Linked DNA regions of Homo sapiens: region 2 is linked to region 1. Evidence: promoter capture Hi-C in 16 types of primary human blood cells and fetal thymus (Javierre and others, 2016). All regions are on one chromosome and are shown on one strand. The core of a region is centred on a gene start or on the middle of the fragment in contact, and the rest is flanking DNA. Distances in the headings are between cores, read along the strand shown.

What was found. Contacts are between HindIII fragments. The CHiCAGO score rates a contact against its expected background, and 5 or more counts as called.
Region 2: a fragment that was not itself captured here is called in contact with the fragment with the promoter of GKN1 in region 1 in 1 of 17 cell types (total CD8 T cells); the score reaches 5.2 in total CD8 T cells.

What each region holds. Positions count from the first base shown.
Region 1 is chr2:68,971,307-68,975,940 of GRCh38, forward strand. GKN1 (gastrokine 1) reads left to right here and starts at 3,330. Exons shown (of 6, transcript NM_019617.4): 1 at 3,330-3,383. The coding sequence starts at 3,372. RefSeq lists a silencer at 820-1,052. The HindIII fragment of the contact is 2,059 bases long and covers 1,893-3,951 here.
Region 2 is chr2:68,119,707-68,124,223 of GRCh38, forward strand. It overlaps the pseudogene PPIAP64. Among named protein-coding and RNA genes, the nearest start is that of DNAAF10, 36 kb to the right of the region's middle. RefSeq lists enhancers at 1,233-1,392, 1,623-1,792, 1,803-1,882, 2,731-3,025. The HindIII fragment of the contact is 3,787 bases long and covers 1,145-4,517 here.

The sequences.
Region 1 (4,634 bases), core at 2,080-4,579:
AGTTGAGTCCTAACTATCAGAAAATGGAGAGCAAGAATGAAAAGGAAGCCAAGGTTACTAAGGGCTTCATAGGTATTAATAACCTCTAGGTCAGCCCATTAACAGGTCTGTGCAGAGACGGAATCTTGAATGAGAATATTTAATGATTAAAATGTACCCTATAGGCAAACATTCCCTTCCACTCAGAGAACAAGAAGGAATGTGAAAAGTCTGATTTCTGTGGGAAAGCACTTTGGTTCCAACCATTTGGGATCTGATTGACATCTTTAAATGAGCAGTTTAGTCCTTTGCAGGCCTCCCTCCAGTTGCACACAGGAGCATATTGCACATGGGATGCATCCCGTCTGCTCCACACGGAGGGAGTTTCCACTGAGCACAACACAGGGTGTGGAGTAGAATGAAGCCTTGGGTGTGTGTGCATTGTGAGATAAAATGACGATAGGGGCTTGTTTCTTGGCATGGCCCAGCATCAATCTCTGTAGGCAGGGCAGGCTCTATTTACCCATGGGCTGATTTGTTCCACACTAACCCCAAGCCACAGAGGTCACACCATCAACTGAGACTCCCTCAATGTGTCATCACAGCCAGTGTAGGGCAGCCCCTCTCAGGCTGGCACCAAAACCAGAAATGACTAAATATAACGCACTTTTTATCCTGTAGCTTAACATCTCCTTTACGCAAGTAAAATTTTTACAAGGGGCCTACTGAGCACCATATATGTGTCTGCATATTTTAGATTCTATGGAGGTGACCAAAAACATTGGTATGTTCTGTCTTCCTGGGAAGACATTCTTCTTCAAGGGAAGAATGAAACATAAAACACAGTTCTCAGGGCAAAAGTCTTGCTCATGCTTCATTAGGACTTTTGGCCTTGGATGAGACCAGGATTGAGGTGAGGGTTGACCCCCACCTTGACCCCCACACTCCCTCTCCCCCAACCTCCCACACCACACAAAGTACAGAAAAAGAAGTTTTTCTGGTTGTAGAGCCATTGAAGTAACAAATATTGTATAAAGGAGGAATTTCTTCTCTTTTACCCACAAGAAACCTAAGGCCTAAACCAAAAAAATAAATGACTCATTGAAAGATGGGAAAATAGAATCTAGGTCTCCTGGCTCCCAGCTTCATCCAGTAGCTCCCCAAATGGGTTTTCAAATCCAGGGTGCATCCTCAGAGGTGGCACAATTTTTTCACTAAGGCAGGGGTCCCCAGAGTTGTTATGAGATGTTAGGACAAATAAATAAAAGAAAAAGGGAAAACGATCAGGTTCTGTAGTCAACTAAGATGAGAAGAACCTGGATGAAACAGAGATTTTTCCCCTATAAATTTCTTAGCCCATTTGATGTGTGAATGTGAATTGTCAGTCTCTAAAGGGGGGATTATTGGACCCGGAACTCTACCTATGTATCTATGTATGTGTGTGTATCTATGTGTGTATACGTGTGTATGTATGTATGTATGTATGTATGTATGTATCTATCTATCTATCTATCTATCTATCTATCTATCTATCTGTCTGTCTGTCTGTCATGGAACATCTTCCAGACCAGCATTTCACAGGTCCACTGCAGAACTTCAGGCCCTTGTCCTTGGTATGACATGCAAAATGTGTGCTGGGCACTGCACCTGTGTACCAAGATGACTACTGGTGGCTGAGTTTAAACGTAGAGACCATGCTACCCACTCATTGACTTCTCAGTGACATGAAGTTTCCTAAAGCAGATGAAGGCCTCTTCACACATGTCTGCCCCTTACTCCAGGCTTATTACCTTCTGTGGATAAAGAGTGAGTTTGAAAGAAATCAGTGGACACATTAAAAAATATCCAGTAATACTGCAGCTGTTCTAATCCACTCCTACCAACAGTTTTGAAGAGATGTTGATAGCGAATCAAGCTTTATAACCATGTGATCCCATCTTATGGTTTCAATCCATGCACAGGAGGAAAATTGTGGGCACGAAGTTTCCAAAGGGAAAATTTATAGATTGGTAGTTAATGAAATACAGTTTTCCTCCTTGGCAAATTTAATTTACTAGCTTCACTGTATAGGAAAAAGCAGGAAAAAAATTAAAACCAACTCACCTCCAAACCTGTTTTGAGCTTTTACTTGTCTGCCCAATTGATAGTTTCTACTCTCTGCTTTTGATGAAAATATTTTTTATTATTTTAATGTAACTTCTGAAAACTAAATTATCTAGAAGCAAATAAAAAGATATTGCTTTTATAGTTCCCAGAAGGAAAAAACAAACACTAGGAAAGTTCTATCTATCAGATGGGGGAGATGTGATGGAGGCAGTGATATTTGAGCTGAGCCTTGAACAATGAACAGGAGTCTACCAAGCGAGAGGCTAGCGGGTGGCCCTCCAAGATAAAACAACAGCATGTACAAAGGCATGGAGACATACACATCTTGACTTTTCCAGGAATGGTGGGAACGCTGGTGGAGCTAGAATGTAGGTACATAGCATAAAGTGGCAGACGGGAAGCCTTTGGAAATCTTATTACATAGGACCCTGGATGCCATTCCAATGACTTTGAATTTTCTGTAGGCTGCCAGCGAAATTTCCAAGCGTGATAGAGTCATGTCTATCTATGCACTTCAGAAAGACAACCTCAGGGTTAATGAAGAAAATGCATTGGAATATAAGAAACTGGTGACCAGAGTGATCAATTGCATGACTGTTGTGAAAGTCCAGGTGAGGGGAGCTGTGGGCAAGGTCAGAGTTGAGAGGCATTTCAGAGATAAAATGACAGTAACTAAGTAGATGTCAGACTGAGAAGAAAGGGCTGTACCAGATATATGGTGCTATCATTAAGTGAGCTCAACATTGCAGAAAAGGGGTAGGTTTGGTGGGAGTTGCTCACAAAACATGTTTAGTCTAAGCAAAACCATTGCCATGGGCTCAGATAAAAGTTAAGAAGTGGAAACCATTCCTACATTCCTATAGGAGCTGCTATCTGGAAGGCCTAGTATACACGTGGCTTTTCAGCTGTGATTTTGTTTGATTTTAGGGATTATTCTTTTTCTGAATCTGAGCAATGTTAGCGTGTAAAATACTCACGCCCACAGCTTTGACTGGGTGAGAAGTTATCATAAATCATATTGAGTTTGTTGTGATACCTTCAGCTTCAACAAGTGATGAGTCAGGTCAACTCCATGTGAAAGTTCCTTGCTAAGCATGCAGATATTCTGAAAGGTTTCCTGGTACACTGGCTCATGGCACAGATAGGAGAAATTGAGGAAGGTAAGTCTTTGACCCCACCTGATAACACCTAGTTTGAGTCAACCTGGTTAAGTACAAATATGAGAAGGCTTCTCATTCAGGTCCATGCTTGCCTACTCCTCTGTCCACTGCTTTCGTGAAGACAAGATGAAGTTCACAGTGAGTAGATTTTTCCTTTTGAATTTACCACCAAATGATTGGAGACTGTCAATATTCTGAGATTTAGGAGGTCTGCTTCTTATGGCCCCATCATGGAAAATTTGTTTTAAAAAAATTCTCTCTTCAAACACATGGACACAGAGAGGGGAACAACACACACTAGGTCCTGTTGGGGGGTGGAGAGTGAGGGGAGGGAACTTAGAGGACAGGTCAATAGGGGCAGCAAACCACCATGGCACACATATACCTATGTAACAAACCTGCACGTTCTGCACATGTATCCCTTTTTTTTAGAAGAAGAAATAATGAAAAAAAATCTTTTTTCTATTTATATAATCATGGCATTTATAAGCATCTCTATAGAGAAGGATAATTGTGCTGAGATTAGACAGCTGTCTGAGCACCTCACACTGACCTATTTTTAACAAAATGACTTTCCGCATCACCTGATTCCGGTCTCCATGCAGGGTAAGCAGTTCCTAAGCCCTAGAAAGTGCCGATCATCCCTCATTCTTGAATTCCTCCTTTTATTTACCAAAATTCCTGAGCATGTTCAGGAAAGATGAAAAGCTTATTATCAAAATAAGTGGCTGAGATAGACTTCTTGTCACATTTGTTACAGTAAAATGGGTCTCCAAGAAAGAAAGATTTGCCTTGGGCTCTAGCATGGCCATTTATTTAAGAAAGCATCTGAAACATGAAGCTACCACAGCATCTCTCCTGTGGTTCCAGACAGAAGCCTGAGAGTCTAGGAGGAGGTGGACCGAGAAACCCTGCCAAAGTAACTAGTAGTGCCGGGTTTCTCACAACACGATGCAAAGGGGCTAGAATCAGATGACTATTTTCATGTTTCAACATACTACACACTGGAAAACGTTACGGCAGACTCTACTTTATAATGGGGCTGCAAATGTAAAATGACTACCTAGAACTAGGTCCTCTTAATAGCAGCAAAGTTTAAAAGGGTCAGAGGGAGCTCCAGACACAGGTTAGATTTGATTTCTCTCCTAGTTCTGCTGTGAACAAGAGGTATAAGTTTGGCCAACTCACTTAACCCCTGAAGCTCAGTTACCTTATCTGTAAAATGATTGCATTGTACTAGGTGTTCTCTAAAATTTCTTCTACCTCTGACTTTTTAGGAGACTAATTTTTAACTCCTTTTTAAGCTATTGGGAGAAAAATTTAATTTTTTTTCAAAAGTTACCTTGAATCTCTAGAGCAGTTCTCAAAACTATTTTGTCCCAGGCAAAG
Region 2 (4,517 bases), core at 1,788-4,287, 850 kb before region 1:
GGAGGGGAGAGTGGGCATGGGGAGGCAACCTGCTGCTCTGCTGCCGTGGAGACGGTAACAGGCTGTGGCGAGAGTGTGTGGAAATCCCTTCCCCCTCCTCCCCTTTCAGGCTCCTGTGCTCTTTCCCTGTTCTCCCCAGCACCCTTCCCAATGCCAACATTCACTGTGACAACAGTTTGTAATAGGACTTTCATCCTTAAGTCCAAGTAGCAAAATGGATGAAAAAAGTGCTCTGACGACCTCCACTTATATACAAAAATGGTGAGGTTAAGAGTTTATTATCACGCCTGTAATCCCAGCACTTTGGGAGGCCAAGGCATGTGGATCACCTGAGGTTAGGAGTTCAAGACCAGCCTGGCCAACATGGTGAAACCCCATGTCTACTAAAAGTACAAAAATTAGCCAGACATGGTGGCTCACGCCTGTAATCCCAGCTACTCGGGAGGCTGAGGCAGGAGAATCGCTTGAACCTGGGTGGTGGAGGTTGCAGTGAGCCGAGATCATGCCAGTGCACTCCAGCCTGGGCAACAGAGTGACTCCATCTCAAAACAACAACAACAACAAACTATAGTATTTACCCCAGAGTTTTGTGGTGGGGATTTAAAAATACAACATGAGAGAAACAATATAGTAAGCACTCCACAAATATTAGCAGCTATTATTATTATTGTCAACATTATCATCTTTATAAATGTGATCCTGATCAAGACTCTAGAGACAGGCCACTGGTTTCCCTCCAAGTTTACTCCTCATTCACTGTCTTTCTTTCTTTCTTTTTTTTTTTTTTTGGAGATGGAGTCTCACTCTGTCACCCAGGCTGGAGTGCAGTGGCGTGATCTCAGCTCACTGCAACCTCTGCCTCCCAGGTTCAAGCGATTCTCCTGCCTCAGCCTCCTAAGTAGCTGGGACTACAGGTGCATGCCACCACATGCAGCTAATTTTTTGTATTTTAATAGAGATGGGGTTTCACCATGTTGGCCAGGCTGGTCTCAAACTTCTGGCCTCAATTGATCCACCTGCCTTGGCCTCCCAAAGTGATGGGATTACAGGTGTGAGCCACCTCGCCTGGCATATACTGCTTTCTTTAGCTTCCATAGCCTCAACCGAGAGCAAGAGAATAAGGCTTCTGACATTCTTCCTAGGAAGCTTTACGGAACAGATTGGAAAATTCACAACAAGCCCTAAGTGGCCCATAGTGGATTAGTGGGGACTGTGGCCGTCAGGACTCCCCCTTAGCTGAGGCTTCTGTGTCTTCTGTGTCTGCTTTCTTAGGGCCCTTTAGCCTGTGAGCTCTTAGGAATGCAGGAAGACCCTCTCTTTCCCCCTGGGTGGTAACAAAATTTCCCCTGGTCCATCATTCCTGAGCCCTAGTTCAGTCTGTGTGCGGCCAGGTCAGCGCTCAATAGGGTTCCAAACCTGTTGGCTGCAAGCACAGACTCCCTCTGAGTGTGAATGTTATCTCTCACCAGATGAGGGATGTGCTCAGCCCAGATCAAACACTTGTTTATCTACAGGGTGGTGAGAGCCAAAACTCTGCTTCTGTTTCTCCCTGGTGGTTTATTTGCTTACCCTTATCACCTCTGAGCAGTGGTGTTGTTTGCATAGAGTTCTCGGTTTCTGGCATGTTAAATTTAGAGGTACCCCAGGCTTCTCGGAGGGATCAGAGTGTTGAGCAACTCCTCAGGGAGGTGCAGGAGAATATCACTGGATGAGGGGTCAGGAGATGAGGGCCTGGGTCTGTCTTCAAATGCAGAAATTGAGTGCAGAGGTCTCAAAGGCCTCTTCTGGCACTGACGTTCTGACTGGCCATGAAAGCCTTGGGTGTCATAAAGAAGAAAAGTTGAAGACTTAAAAGGAGGAAGTGTGAGTGTCTTCAGCCTCCGGTGTGAGGGAGAACTGTGAGTCTCTTTTGACCACAGTTTATTTTGTGTTGCTTCTTTTAGCTGCATGGTCCATACGCCAAAGGTGGGCAGGTGGAGGGCTGCTACTCACTAACTTGGTAGTGCAGAAATGGCTTTTAAAAACAGTGGCTATATGGCTGCGCACGGTGGTTCATGCCTGTAATCCCAGCACTTTGGGAGGCCGAGGCAGGCGGATCACTCGAGGTCAGGAGTTCGAGACCAGCCTGATCAACATGGAGAAACCCCGTCTCTACTAAAAATACAAAAATTAGCCGGGCGTGGTGGTGGGCGCCTGTAATCTCAGCTACTTGGGAGGCTGAGTCAGGAGAATCGCTTGAACCCAGGAGGCGGAGGTTGCAGTGAGCTGAGATCGTGCCATTGCACTCCAGCCTGGGCAACAAGAGCAAAACTCTGTCTCAAACAAAACAAAACAAAACAAAACATTGGATCTGGTGCAAAGAAGATGGAGAGAAATTCTAGAATTCCTGCAGGAAGTTAAGTGATGGTATAAAGAAGTCCTTACTCTGAGAAATGCTTCGTTAAAATCAGAATTTACAGAATAAACGGTTGGTAGGAGATAGAGGCATGTACTATTTACTTTACAAAATAATTCCTCACTTTATAAAAAGCCAAATATTTTCTCTTGGAAGTTAGCCTTGTGATGCTACCAGTAAGACTGAATCTATAATAAAGCTAATGATCCAACTTTTGGTTAAAAAACCCATTCTGTAAAAAGAAGCATAGGCATGCTATGCAGTGTTGTTATATACAAAGTGGGTTTTCTTCATAAACACAATCACATTTTTGGAAGACATTTCTGTAAGATAATGTCTTTCTCAAGGTCCAGTTTGGCTTGCGTGCCTCCTGGGAATTAAACAGGATAGATTTTTCCAGCTGCATTTGAAAGACAAATTCCGTTTCCTTGTGTTGAAAGGTCTGCAATGCCCACATCTCCCACAAGGGGGCAGCGCACCACTGGGTCTTCAGGTACAAGGACGGCCTGGGATTCGGAACGTGCGGCTGAGGGGCCTCCTTCCCAGGGGAAGAAAATCCACTGAAAGTCGTGAAGAGGCGGACCTTATGTACCACGACATAATTGAATTTCATATCTCACGAACCCTGCGTATTTGCCAGAAACTTTCGGGCTGTTCTCATTCAGAAAAGGATGAAATCATTTTGTGTGTTGGATAGTCCTTAGACATTCCCAGAAAAAAAATTATTTTTCATGTATATATGCAAAGTGTATCCAGCTAAATCACAAGCAAAAGTGACTTTAAGCAGGTACCAAGACACGCCGGATCATAAAGACACTGTTCTCCCTTCAAGTTCCTTTGGTGAGTTTATGGACACGCATGAGGTAAGCTGCGCCGTTCATGTTCTACTGCGCGTGACTTTGTACTGCCCCTGAGTGGAAAAGGTATTTGGGATTCGAAAGAAGTTATTATTAAGTACAAACAAATTCCCAAGAAAAGAAATGTAGTATGAAGATCAATTTGAGTGTGTAGGGGGAGTTTTCCTTTCCTGTTTTTGTACTGGGCTGGGCTTGCATTGGTGCACATAAAGGATAATAAAAGTAACTTAAAAAACCAAGGGATTCCATGGTGTCTGGTTTACAAGAGCTGATGGAGAAGATACAATTGCCAAAAGGGAGTATTGGGTGCCAAGACCCAGATCTGGCCTAAGGAAGCACGCATTGGTAGCGCCCTAGTTTTCACCTCATGGGAGGACGCAGCCAGGGAGGCCGTGCTTGACGGCTCTGTCAGGGCGGCAGAATCCAGTTACACCTCCCAACATCCATTTCCCTACTTCCTCAGGACCAGAACTCCCAAATGGTAGCCGGGTATAACACTGCACACAATCAGGTTTATGCTTCTCGGTCTCACTGTGATAGGTGAGACCGAGACACAGGACCAAATCATCACCAATGGATACAAGCAAAAGTGCTCTTCAAAGTGCAAGATGTTCTTTTTCTTACTTTTCCTACTTTTCTGATGTCTGGAATGTGGATGTGATGGTTCAACTGGAACAGGCACACTGGATAATGCGTAATCTTTATTTTGGGTTTTCAGTTACCCGCAGCTGAACCTAACCCTAATCAACAACAATGCCTTCAAAAAACAGGCCAGAGGTTAAGATGGACTTTTTTTTCCTAATTACTTGTTTTATCATTATTTTATCATTTTAATCACCCACCAACATTTGCTTTTATTTATTTATTTATTTTTGAGACAGGGTCTCTCATTTTCCCCAGGCTGGAGTGCAGTAACACAGTCACCACTCACTGCAGCTTCAACCTCCTTGGCTCAAGTGATCCTCCTGCCTCAGCCTCCCAAGCAGCTGGGACTATAAGCTGTGCTACCACACCCAGCTAATTTAAAAAAAAAATTTTCTGTAGAGACAGTGTCTCACTATGTTGCCCAGGCTGGTCTTGAACTCCTGGCCTCCCAAAGTGCTAGGATTACAAGCGTAAGCCACTGCGCCTGGCCCAACATTTATTAAATGTTGTATTAAGGGGCCAGGGGCAGTGGCTCATGCCTATAATCCCAGCACTTTGGGAGGCCGAGGCAGGCAGATCACTTGAGGTGAGGAGTTTGAGACCAGCCTGGCCAACATGGC